Linked DNA regions of Homo sapiens: regions 1, 2 and 4 are each linked to region 3. Evidence: promoter capture Hi-C in human tissues and cell types (Jung and others, 2019). All regions are on one chromosome and are shown on one strand. Each heading gives the region's core, a stretch centred on a gene start or on the middle of the fragment in contact. The rest is flanking DNA. Distances are from core to core; before and after follow the strand shown. Region 1 overlaps CACNA2D4 (calcium voltage-gated channel auxiliary subunit alpha2delta 4). Region 2 overlaps DCP1B (decapping mRNA 1B). Region 3 holds the start of CACNA2D4 (calcium voltage-gated channel auxiliary subunit alpha2delta 4). Region 4 overlaps CACNA2D4 (calcium voltage-gated channel auxiliary subunit alpha2delta 4).

Evidence for each region. Contacts are between HindIII fragments. The study calls those that stand out against the background at their distance.
Region 1: a fragment that was not itself captured here is called in contact with the fragment with the promoter of CACNA2D4 in region 3 in 1 of the 25 tissues and cell types used here (spleen).
Region 2: a contact is called between a fragment that was not itself captured here and the fragment with the promoter of CACNA2D4 in region 3, in 2 of the 25 tissues and cell types used here (pancreas and spleen).
Region 4: a contact is called between a fragment that was not itself captured here and the fragment with the promoter of CACNA2D4 in region 3, in 2 of the 25 tissues and cell types used here (dorsolateral prefrontal cortex and mesendoderm cells).

Annotation. Positions count from the first base shown.
Region 1 is chr12:1,880,064-1,883,274 of GRCh38, forward strand. CACNA2D4 (calcium voltage-gated channel auxiliary subunit alpha2delta 4) reads right to left here. Exons shown (of 38, transcript NM_172364.5): 13 at 2,804-2,937. Among named protein-coding and RNA genes, the nearest start is that of CACNA2D4, 37 kb to the right of the region's middle. The HindIII fragment of the contact is 4,323 bases long and covers 1-3,211 here.
Region 2 is chr12:1,962,348-1,965,292 of GRCh38, forward strand. The region is part of intron 5 of DCP1B (decapping mRNA 1B); the gene reads right to left. Among named protein-coding and RNA genes, the nearest start is that of LINC00940, 27 kb to the left of the region's middle. The HindIII fragment of the contact is 6,426 bases long and covers 1-2,945 here.
Region 3 is chr12:1,917,026-1,919,991 of GRCh38, forward strand. It overlaps CACNA2D4 (calcium voltage-gated channel auxiliary subunit alpha2delta 4), which reads right to left and starts at 1,627. Exons shown (of 38, transcript NM_172364.5): 1 at 1,222-1,627. The coding sequence starts at 1,448. RefSeq lists an enhancer at 1-276. The HindIII fragment of the contact is 9,283 bases long and covers 1-2,966 here.
Region 4 is chr12:1,854,004-1,856,939 of GRCh38, forward strand. It overlaps CACNA2D4 (calcium voltage-gated channel auxiliary subunit alpha2delta 4), which reads right to left. Exons shown (of 38, transcript NM_172364.5): 21 at 2,181-2,226; 22 at 2,009-2,106; 23 at 1-41. Among named protein-coding and RNA genes, the nearest start is that of LRTM2, 35 kb to the left of the region's middle. The HindIII fragment of the contact is 7,695 bases long and covers 1-2,936 here.

The DNA.
Region 1 (3,211 bases), core at 571-3,070, 37 kb before region 3:
ATGCTGGGGGCCAGAAGTGGACTGGAGGGCAGGACCAGGCTGATGTCACTCAGCAGGGTCCTGAGCCCCATGACCCAGCCCCAAGCACATTCACTAAGCTCTCTCGTCTCAGCGAGGCCCAGGCCGAGTGTTAAGTGCAAACCCAGGAAACAGGCCCATCTGCGCCTGCCCAGAAACAGAGAGGCTTTGCACAGCACGAGCTTTCCAGAAACCTCTGATATGGACTTAAGGTTGCTACAGGTGAGAGGGAGGACATTGACCCAGAGCTACCCAGAAACACAAGCACACCCCGAGGCACTGCAGTGCAAAGGCAGGCCGTGGTGCAGCTGTGGTGGGCTTCGGGGCCGTTCCTAGGACACAGGTCAGACCCACATGGACTCCACTCACAGCACCAGAGCCAAACCCTTGCCACCTCTAGACGGCTGTCCGCCCTGACTGGCTGGGCTCGCCGTGCCGGCTCCTCCAGCCACTTGAAAGGGGCTCTGCATGTGTGCCCCACTTTATAACAAAAGTAGGCTTCTGACAAGCATGTGGGAAGAGAGGTATCGTAAGTCCGACCTTGGATGAGATCAACTAAAGGGGACTGCTGAGTCATGGAAGTCCACAGTTGACTTTCTTGGAGAAGGAAGCACATTTTGGCCACCACGTCTCTTTCTCTCATCTCATCTGAGTTTTCAATTTAGAGTTAGAAGTAAGGCTTTCTGAGAGTGAACCACGATGACATCTAATTGTTTTCTGAGCTTGGACACATCTCTATGGGCTGCATGAGGGCTTTCCAGTCTCCTTCCTGAGTTAGGAATGCATGAAGCCAGCTTGTCCCTGGCTCCCAGAGAGCAGCTCCCAGGCTCTTGGAGGCCCCTGTGGCCTGCTCTCCCTAGGACATGTCTCAGTCTGGGAGGAGTCCAGTCACAGCTGTCCCTGCACTCATGTTTCTGGATACCCTTGCAAGGGCGGACACCTGCCCTGGGCTCAGGGGAGTGACATCCTCCACTCAGAGGGTTCCGAAGTGGGTCCGGGAGACCTGCAGGTGACCCTTAACTTCAGGGACTCCTAAGTCAGGGACAGGAGAGGGAAGGAGGAAGACAGAGGAGATGTAGGGACTGGTTGCAGGGGGCGGTTCTCACTGAGGGACAGGTGTAAAAGTGAAGATCAAACTGTGAACTGTGGCCTCGTCTGTGTGCGTGGAGGTAAGAGAGCGTCAGAAGGTCAGGCTGTCCATAGAATGCTAAGGACATCCTAGCACCGTCTGACATCAGTTGCAGCACACAGGGAACCTGGGGTTGCCTCTACCCACCTTCTGCCAAACTCACACCCAACACTCCAGGCCACCTTCAGCAGGTATGGCCTATGCCCGGCTTCTCTCATCGGATTTCATGGTTCTGAAAGCCTTCGCTTTCCAGCTCCCGTGGCATGACCACAACACTCCCAGGTGAGGGAGGCCCACACGGAGCACCGGAGCCCTGGCCCCTCCTGCTGGGCTGGCTACTGGCAGGCAGATGAATGCACGGGTGATGGAGAGGAAGTGCAGGTGCCAGGGTTCACAGGAAGACAGCTCAAAGAAGATCCCCTCCTGTCCTCCTTCTCCCCACCCACCTCTCTCTCATCAAACCTGGACACTCAGGGCCCTATGAACACTTGGACAAGGGAGGGAGAGCCCTGCCCAAAGGCAGCCAGCTCGTCTCTTCTCAGCAGCAGTCGGTGATGGTCAGATGACATCTGCTGAGCATGGCCGTGTTGGCGGAGCCCCTTTAAAGTAGATTAATGAGCTTTTCATCCCAAATTTGGCCAGATGGCTTATGTCTACTATTAACAGGTGGAGGTAAGTAAGCATGCCACTGCTTTTGGACATAGAGCAACTCAGAAGAAAGCTGACCATTGCCTCGTTGCATTCCCAGCCTCCTTTGTCAGCACAGGGACTGAGTTCTGGCCAGTGAAAGGTGAATTCTGGGTTCTGGCAAGAGTCCCTGCAAGTTTCCCTCACAGGGGCGAAGTATCCCCCTTCCCCTTCCACAGCCTGATGCTTAAGTGTGGTTTCAGTTGACTCATGTTCCACCAGCCTCCTGAGCATGAGGATGAGGGCCACATGGCTGGGACAGCAAAGGGGACAGCAGGGAGGAGCCTGGGTCCCTGATGACCAGGCCAGAGAGCTCGTGGTCAGCTCTGGGCTTTGTTTACCCAAGGGGGACATTCACTTCTATCTTATTTAAGCCACTCTTTTCAGGTCTCTCTGGAGCCCAGCCTGATACATCATCACTGAAGCAGGTGGCTGCCTATGTGATGGGGATTTGAGAAATGGCAGAAAGGTCTCCCTTCCCCAGAAAGGTCCCATGTGAAGCTCTCCCTTTGATGTTCATTCTTTCGTGCAAGTCATTGCTGCCTACAGTCCTTTGAAAATGCAGGGACCCAGGAAGGGAGAACGTGTTCCAGCTGTGGGATGGTGGATTCTTGGTCTGACCCCTTTCTGTCCCGGGTGGGTGGGAGGGAGGGATGATGAGGGAGGCGAGGACTGTGGAGGAGGAGGAAGGAACAACTTCGGAGCAGGGACCCTGTCCGTGGAGAGCACCTCAGGCAGGTCTGCTGGGGGTCTAAGGCAGCATATGAGCAGTGGTCCCATTAGTGGGCCAAGGGCTGTCAGGAAAAGAGGAGGAAAAGCATGGAAAAGCGGCTTCATTCGCCCCTTCTTAATGTTCCCTAAGGAGGTGCTAGGCCCACCCCTTTCCTGACCCAGGAAGTAACTTCTTACTCCCTGGGGTCCCTAACTCTGAGGTGGGCTTCTCGAGCTGGGAGCTGCTGCCAGGCTCACCTTGCTGTCCATGTAGGCCTCTGTCCAGATGATGTCGTGGTCGTGGTTGATGACCATGGGGCGGCTGAGCACGTGCAGGTATTCCATCACGTTCTCCTGGGTGTCCGCCAGCGTTGAGATCTGCGTGTAGTAGCCTGCGGTGGGGAAGGCCGCGTGGGTGTGGAAGGCAGGGCTTCCCTGGGAACCCCTCGCCAGGGCCTGCACCCTCCCCAGCTGCAGATGGCTCATAGCCGAATACTCTCTGGAAACTGGACCGGGGCACAGGGAGCTGCTTCCCCACAGTTGTGTCCTTTACCCAGGGGCAGCCGCAGGCCAGTGGGAGGCCAAGGCTCACTCTGCTGCACCCTGGAAGATCTCTGAGGGGCTGTCCCACCCAGAGCTCCGGAAGGAGCAGCAGGGCCTGACGCA
Region 2 (2,945 bases), core at 129-2,628, 45 kb after region 3:
CAGTCTCCCCAGCCAGAAAGGATTTTAAGATGTCAAAACATTATAACATATAGAAGATAAAAAACAGAAACAATACAAGGTATGTGTGTGTTGAGAGGAGGGAGGGAAAGAAAGGAAAATAATTTTTTTCAATATTTGTATTTATTTACCATTGTTACACTGTCTTCACAGAACATTAAGTTCCTGGAGGGCAGAAATGTCACCTTTTGAAGATTAATCTTTAGTGTGCATAATATAGTATAATTAATAAAGTATAACTAATTATTCAACTAGTTGCCAAGTCATCATAATTTTTTTTAATGACTTTTGAAGAATTAAAAAAACACAAAATGAATACAGAATAGTTACTGTCTGAAGCTGAGATTAAGGCATCTCTGTCCAGGCCATACAATAGAAGGATAATTAAACTGTGGCTCATTCACATTCATATTCCTTCCTTCACTCAATAGCCATTATTTAACACTCACCATGTGCTAAGTACTTTGAAGACAATAAGGGATATAAAAGTGAATAAAGGATGTTCTTCGTACTCAAGAAGCTCACAGTCAAGGCAAAGCATGTTAAAGAAACTTGTCTAACTGCCTATATGTGCCACTTCATTCAGGATTTTTCTGATTGCTTCCTCATAGCATCATTTAATTTGTTTTTCTACCTTGTCTCCCCTCACTCCCCACCCACTTTCACTTTCTGTAAACTAAAAAGTTAGAGCTCAAGGCTTAATGAGATTCAGGATCAACTCTTTGGGCAAGAATATTTCAAGATGGTGCTGTACATTTGACATCTTATCACATTAGGAAGCCAGAGAATCTGGTTATCTAACTTTTAATGATGATAATCAGCGGGGTTCAGGAGGAGGCAGCCTGATCCTTCCACTGTCAAGTTTCTATCAACCTTTCCCATAACATTAATATTACTGATGATCACTGCCTGAGTCAATTATTTTAAGCAGAGTGTCTTTAAGTTCTATTATTCTCTCCACACGTACTAGCTGGAATTCTCTGGTAGAGAACAGCTCTCCCTCATTGACCAGGGCTGTTTGATTACTCTGAGATATAGTCCCTTTAGGGCAGGCAGGATAAAAGCTTATTTCATTCCCATTAATTATCAATTTTCAGAGGAAGGAGTTGGTGCCTTAGCACCTTCAAACGGATAACTAATAATTATTTTGCTTGGTTTTATATGTTTGGTTTGCTTGTTCTCTTTCTCATTACCAGGAACTCATAGATTTTTATACATTCAATGTGGTTTAATCCATTGTAGTCACTCCTGTTGATGTTAGAATGTGGTGCTCTGGTCAGTGTCCTTGAAGCTGATTTCTGTGTCCTTTCACATGACCCTATTGGTTTTACTATTCCAGACCTGGAATCAGAAATTTCTTTGAAGAGCCCTGACACCTTCTGGAAGGAAGTAATATTTCGAAACAACAATCTGGGTGATATAGATGCTTACTGCTACTGAGTTAGTCACTTTTATTTTTATGTCCTTTCAGGGCAAGAGTGAGAAACTCTATTTTTTGTTTTTATACCTAAGAAACAAAACATGAACTAATTCTGATATTTCCACTTAATCTTATGTAGTTTTAACTTATTAGATTTGATTTTTTTCCCCTTACACTAAGGTTTTGGTTCCAACCACGTTTATCTAATTTCATATTTATTATATCCACAACAGTAGAAAAATTACAATGCCAACAGTAGAAAAATTAAAATGCCAACATTACTACAAACAATAAAACCAATGAATGAAGTTTATAATGTCTTGCAGTTCTTTTTGTCCTTAAAATATAACCCACTAAGAGTGTTCAGTTCAAGCAGCGGGCTTTGAAGTCACTCTAATTTTTTTTCTAAGTAATTATGTGACAATATGATATTCAATTACATACATTTATTTCAGCTAGTTTCCAAATTCTATAATTTTTAAAAATTTTTATTTTTTGCCCATTTTTCTAGTGTTAATCTTGTACTTCTTAATTTTTAGGAGCTCTTCATAAAATAACCTTCCTGTCATTCTGGTGTCAACAATTTTTTTCTGAGTTGTTTTTGTATCTTTCTATTTGCTTGTGTTGTATTTAAACCTTGTAAAATGTTTTTTATTTTTATGTAGTTTAATTAATTGCTTTTGGGTTTTTAGGCATAATTGAAAGATTTCTCTTTTCCTAGATTATAAAGAAATCCATACAAATTTTCTTCTGGTACTTGAATCATTATATTTTTACATTTAAATTTCTAATACATTTGGAATTTATCCTGGTGTATGCTGTAAGGTACAGACTCAGTTTTGTATTTTTCCAAATGGCTACCAGTTGCCCCAACACCATTTATTTAGGAATTCACTCAAATAGCTGACTTGAGATTATCATCTTTATCATATCCTAGATTTCATATACAATTGGATTTAATCCTAGACTTAGAATCTTAAATCTGTCCCATTGGTCTATTGGGCTGTTAGGTATCAATACCATCAACACCATACTGTTTGAAATGTTGACTTCAATGTTTTAAAATCAGGGAGAGCTCGCTCCATCCCCCCACTCATCTCCCCCACCTCCAACCCCTACTAATATCACACTTCTTTGCCAGGATTTTCCCAGCTATTCTTTCTTGCATATTTCTTTCCATGAGCCTTACACTCAACTTGTCTAGATCAGAGAGTAAGGGAGAAGTGGGGAGGGGAGGGGAAAAGAAACCAGTGGTATTTATTTAGTGGTCACCTTAAATGTAGAGATTTTTTTTCTAAGAGCTTTATGTTGAATCTTCTTATCCAACAACAGGGTGTATATTTCCATTTGTTTGAGTCTATTTTTATGCCTTTCAGGAGTTTTTAAACATTTTCTTTATATAGGTTTTGCCCATTTCTCGTGAATTTTATTGCAAACAATTTTATATTCATTTGTTGCTACTGTAAGTTGGGGTCTTGCAGTAAGTCTAACAAGACTTACTACCAGT
Region 3 (2,966 bases), core at 377-2,876:
TCTGGGGATGAAAATTGTTCTGAACATCTCCTGCAGCAACAGATAGCGTTACGGGCTGGCGGCGGGTGTAATGGTGAAAGTGCAGTCCAGGCTGACAGGAGTTCAAATCCCAGCACCTTCACTTCCTGGCCTTGTGAACTTGGGGAAGTCACCTGACCTCTCGGGGCCTCTGTTTCCTCAGCTGCAAAATAGGGATAAAAATAAGCCCCCACTGAATGGCTCTGCAAACTAACGGTGTCATTTGTGAAGCGCCCAGCTCCGTGCCAGGCAGGGAACAAGGAGAGCTATGCGGCTCGATGGGAAACGATGCTGCCTAATCCACTGGTCAGCAAAGGCTAAGCACAGGCACGGTGTGTCATTTAGGCTCCCTGTCCCCACTCCTGCTAAGACATGCAGTTGGCAGGTGGCTCTGTTGGTGGCCTGGCTATGGTGCTGGGCTCAAGCGGCTGGAGTAAACAGGATGGGGTCTGTAGCACCTACAGTCTAGAAGGCTCTGCTACCCACATGTATTGGAAATTTCCTTCCTAGGACCACCTGAGCTAGGGCCTAAAACACAGACACCCCAGAGAGGTTGCACAGTAATTTACATGTACACCAAGGTGCACATGACTGATACCGGGTTCTTTCCTGGAGCCGGTCTTAATGGCCGGCTAGAGAATCAAGGTTGGAAGGAGGCAGAAAGGTGTAGAAAGGGAAGACTGCGGCCACCAAAATCCATTTTTTTCCCCAGTTCCTGGACAAGCCACCTCCTGTGCGCATGAGACGTTCTGTGGGTTCAGAACTGCTTCCCCTTTTTGGAATGTCAAAATACGCATTTCCTGCCAAATGCTTCGGGGAGCTGCGATGCTGAGATAACCCGGCTCCTCCAGGCTGCCTCATCTCAGCGATTATCCTGAAGGAGCACCCGCCCTTCAGGTGTCCCAGAAGCTGCTTGTCAGGCCAGGAAGACAGCAGCCCTGATGATCAGTTCTTCCTAAAGCCATCCGGCTCCTGGGGAGAGGCAGGTGGGACTCCAGAACTCACAGAGCTTTTGGGAGGAGAAAGAGGAGGCCGGAGAAGCAAAGGGCTTTACAGCAAGAGAGTGGTCAGTCGCAGCCACTGGGGAAAAGCCCAGAGGGAGGGCAGGGGCGGGAGGAGTGGGCAGAGGATGGAGGCCCAGCCCGGGAAGAAAGTGGGAAAGGGTGACCGGGTTTTTGGGGTGGGGTTGAACGTGATGCTTACGTTTCCAGAGGAATCTTGGCCTGTCCCCACGCAGGGGACAGGGAGGTGCCTAGAAGCAGCAGCCACAGGAGGGCCGAGGTCTTCTGCACAAAGGCCCAGGCCACGGGCATTGGCTGGAGGGGAATCCAGCGGCTGCTGGAGCTGGGGTTTGCGAGGAAGTTGGGAGTTGCAGGCATGGTGGGCCTGGGGTTGGGGAGGGGAAGGAGGGCAGAGCAGCCACAGACCATGAGCTCTGTCTGCCTTCCTCCCAGACCCCAGGACGCCCCAGGCCTTTGTCTTCCGTGCCTTGGCGAGCCTGGGGTCTCCAGCCTCTCAGTCCTGGGTGGGGAGGGCTTCTCTCTGCCCCACAGCTGCAGCTCACAGAAGAGTCGCCCCACCTAGCAAGCAGGCCTCGGAGACAGGGACTGGGGGAGAGGCTGTGGCAACATGAAACCCTTTAATCCGCTGGCCTCTCCTCTAATCCTCTCCTGACAGCAGGGAGGGGGTGGCAGGGGGTGGGGAGCTGCCTCCCAAGATTACCACAACTGCAGCTGGTTCCCTCAGGGCTATAGTGCACCCCTCTGCTTTAAAGAGGCAGCCCCGTTCCTGTGGAACCACCTTCTGGACCCAGGAAGGGCTTGCTGTGACTATGGCCAGAGGACAGCAGCTGAGTTTGCACAGTACTCTGATTGACCCACAAATCTCTTGTTGACCCTGAGGTGGGGGTGTGTCCTCATCCCTGCTTGGCAGAGGCTCTTGAGGCCCGGGGAGTCCCAGGGGCAGAGCTGGGACTCTGGCTGGTGTTTCCAGGCCTGGTGCCTTTGGGACAGGTCATAGGTCATAGGTGAAGTCAGTGGACCCACGCCTCCACATCTCAGCTGCTCGTGGGCGGGGCTGGGGACGCATTTGCTGTGCAACTGATGAAGCTTCAGGACCCCTGAATCCACAGACTCCCCCCTTTCCCGGAGAGGCCCTAGCAATGTGTTCCTGTGGCCAAATGTTTTTGTAAAATATGCAAAAGTTGAGATAGTTTAACCATAACCGGTTGAGACTGTCTGTCTCTTTCCATCCCAACTTCTCTTCCGTCTGAGGGACTCTTAGTTGGATGATGTTTGGGTGGCTGAGGGCACTTGGGGGATCCAGTTAAGAGGAAAGTGAGCTGGGGAAACACTTAATCTGGGCTTAGTGGGATATGCTGACATGGTTCACAGTGACTTCTTTGTACAGAGAAGTTACCTCCAGCTGAGTGTAGGCAGGGCTTCCAGGAACACTCATCCCACAGGACATCCCACCAGCAGATGCAGCAAGAGAGGCTGGGCCGTGATGTGAGCGCACGCTGTCACACCCACCCTGGCCATGTGTGGTGGGGAGGGCAAAGTAACAGTCAGGAGCTCATCTGCAGAAAATCTACAAAAAGCCACACAGGTAACATCGTTGGTGGAGGATTTGGTTCTCACCAAGGCCTGGCCAGGACAGAAGTTCTCTCCTGTTAGGAAAATAGTGGATATTGAAAGAATATAATTACACCGTACATTGCTTTGTGTTCTGATGAGAGTTACACAAATTAGAATTGATCAAAATTCTTGTGTTGTGAGCCCAAACCAGTAGTAGTACCACATGGGTTCTCCGGGGGTGAAGTCATAGATTTTATGCAGTCCCCGTATCAGATTATTTTCTTAGTGTAACTGGTGCACTGTGTCTTCACAAAATCTGGTGGTTCCAGCAAAATGGTAAGCAAAATTGCCACCAACGCAGAGAAATGCTTG
Region 4 (2,936 bases), core at 416-2,915, 63 kb before region 3:
CACCGCGTCAAACAGCACCTCCCGGACCAGCTCCTCGTCACCTGGGTGCAAAACATCAGGGAACCAGGCCACATGCTTCCTCCATGCTCATGAACACAACTCTCCCATCCTAAGTTCAGGGAGAAGATGTGCTTCCTGAACGTGTCTATGGGACATGTAAAACTATCTCTGTGAGCTTGAGGGAGCTGCCTCACCTCTGTCTGTCTTCACTTTCTCAACTCCAAAAAATATGTCAGTACAACAGCTTGATATCTGAGGCTCTTTCCAATTGTAACATCTGATGAACTTAGGAGACCCTCAGTGACCTCAGGTTGGATCTTCCCAGTCTCCCCCATCTCAACTCTTCCTCATCTGCTTCTTAACCATCCAGACACCTTGGCCTTTGGTCAGTTCTGTGAATTTTTTGTTGTTGTTGTTGTTGAGATGGAGTCTCATTCTGTTGCCCAGGCTGGAGTACAGTGGCATGATCTTGGCTCACTTCAACCTCCGCCTCCCAGGTTTAAGCAATTCTCCTGCCTCAGCCTCCCAAGTAGCTGGGACCACAGGTGCACACCACCACACCTGGCTAATTTTTGTAATTTTTGTAGAGACAAGGTTTCACTATGTTGGCCAGGCTGATCTAGAACTCCTGACCTCAAGTGATCTGCCCACCTTGGCCTCCTAAAGTGCTGGCATTATAGGCATGAGCCACTGCCCCTGGCCAGTTCTGTGAATTTGACCTTGCCAAGCTCCTCCTTACCTCAGAGCCCCTATACATGCTGTTTCCCTTGATCTGGATATTCTTTTTCCCAGTCTTTGCATGGAGGCTCTTTCTTTTTCTTCTCTCATTTAAAAAATTTATTTATCTTTATTGAGGTAAAATTCACATAAAATGAAACTGACCAATTTAAAGTATGCAATTCAGTCAGCGGCATTTAGTACATTCACAATGTTGTACAACCACCACCTCTATTTAGTTCCAAAATATTTTTATCACCCCCCAAAGGAGATCCTCCTCACCTTGGTGAGGAGGTGTCACAATAGAGCCACCCAAGTGGCTTAACAGGATCTCCTTTAAAGCAGGCCTATTTCTCTCCCCTACAGCATCCTGTTCATGGCGCTTATCACAATTTATAACAACCTATATCTATATATGTAGGCTTATTTGCTTATCACCTGGCTTCTCCACTAGAATGTAAGCTCCATGATAGCAAGGGCCTTGTCTGGGTTATCTCTGTAGCTCTAATACCTACCCCAGGGCCTGACACAGGGTGCAAGCTCAGTACAGATTTGTTGATGAAATGAATAAATAAGTAAGTAAGTGCCCTGTTGGGTTGGCATGGGAGGCAGTCTTCTTATGCGGGTGACAATTATGTGACAGGATGACCTGCTCTTTCTTCCAAAGAGGAAGAAGGAGGAGCAAGCTGAGGATGTGGCCTAATGAGCTCACCACTCGCATTAGTGCAGGTGAGAAGGCCATGTGACCATGGAGCAGAGACTGAAGTGTCACAGCTGCAAGACAAGGAGCACCTGGGGCTCCTAGACCTGGAAGAGGTGAGCAAGGTTAGCCTGAGGAACTGGTTTAGAAAACAGAGCCCACAGGCTTCGAGTCATCTGGCCAAATGCTCCCCTTGTGGAGATGAGGACTTCTGGTGAAGAGTGGCAGCCATTTGCCCAGAGGTCCACTTCTAGACAGTGGTAGGGAAAAAGATGACAGACTCTGAATGGTGCTTTCTCCTGACCCTTAACAGAGCTTGGTGGATAGAGGCTGAAAAAGATCCCAGTCCCTGACCTGGGGATCCATACATGTTACCACAGTTCCAAGGGTGCTTAAATACCAGCTCAGCCCTGTGGTAAGGCTGGCTATGCCTTTTTCTTTGGGAATCTCCCTGTTTGATCTAAGCCATCCATGTGCTAATGGGATAGGGCTGTGCAGCAGCCTCCCCCTGCCTTCCCACCTCTCCTGGCAAAGTCCTGAACTTCAGGGCCCCAGAGGAAAAGCTTGCCTCAGTGGGCGGCCAGCACTCACACTCCAGGTCTGGGTCCTTCCTGGTGAGGAAGCGGATCATGGCCTCTAGCTGGCTGAGCTTCCGGTGGTCTGGGTCAATATCTGTGATGCAGTAGATCCTGAAACCCAGGAAAGTCAGTGTTATCTCAAAACATTCCACCTGTCTCCCTCCCATTTTTTACTCCTCACTTACCAGTCACCGGCCAGGGCCAGGTCTGGGTGAAGCAAGTCATGCAGGCCTGAAACCAGAGTCCACATTCAGGGTGATGCTCCCTCACTGCCATGAGGGTGTGTGTCTCAATTGTAGAAACAGCCACCCAGTGAGTTTCTAAAGAAAGGGACTGGGGTCTGTTCTTTCTTGCTCTTAGCTCACAGTAGGAGAACATGGCTAAGTCTGCACAGGTCCCACCTCCTGAAATGCTTTCTTCTCATTGTTTCATGTCCAAATCCTACCCCTTCTTCAAGGTTCAGGGCAAATGCCATGCCTTCAATGAGCTGCCCAGCCAGTGGGAGCATCTTTTCCTCCTGCAGCCCTCATGCCCCTCCTCCCCATCCAGGTTGGATTTGGGTTATTATGGGCATGTAATAACCTTGTGCTTCTGCCAGACAGCAGCTCCCTGAGGAAGCTGCATCTTATTCCTCCTAGCATCTCCCTCAAAGGGAGGTGATACTTTGAAACCAGTGATTTTGGCTTCATTGGCTTCATCCCCAGGATGGGCCCTGTGTGTTTTGCGGCCTCTCACCTAACACAGAGCCAGCCTGATCTCATGCTCAGTACACGCTGTTGACTGAAAGAACGATGAGCTGATGCTCCATGGCACCTACTCAGAGCTAAGAAATGAACAGGTGCTCCACTGAGGGTAAGTCCAAGGAGGGGATGACAGAAAGGCCAGTGGGGCATCTGTGGAGCCTCACAAGGGCTGCTGCTCTGATGTAGACACAGGGCAAG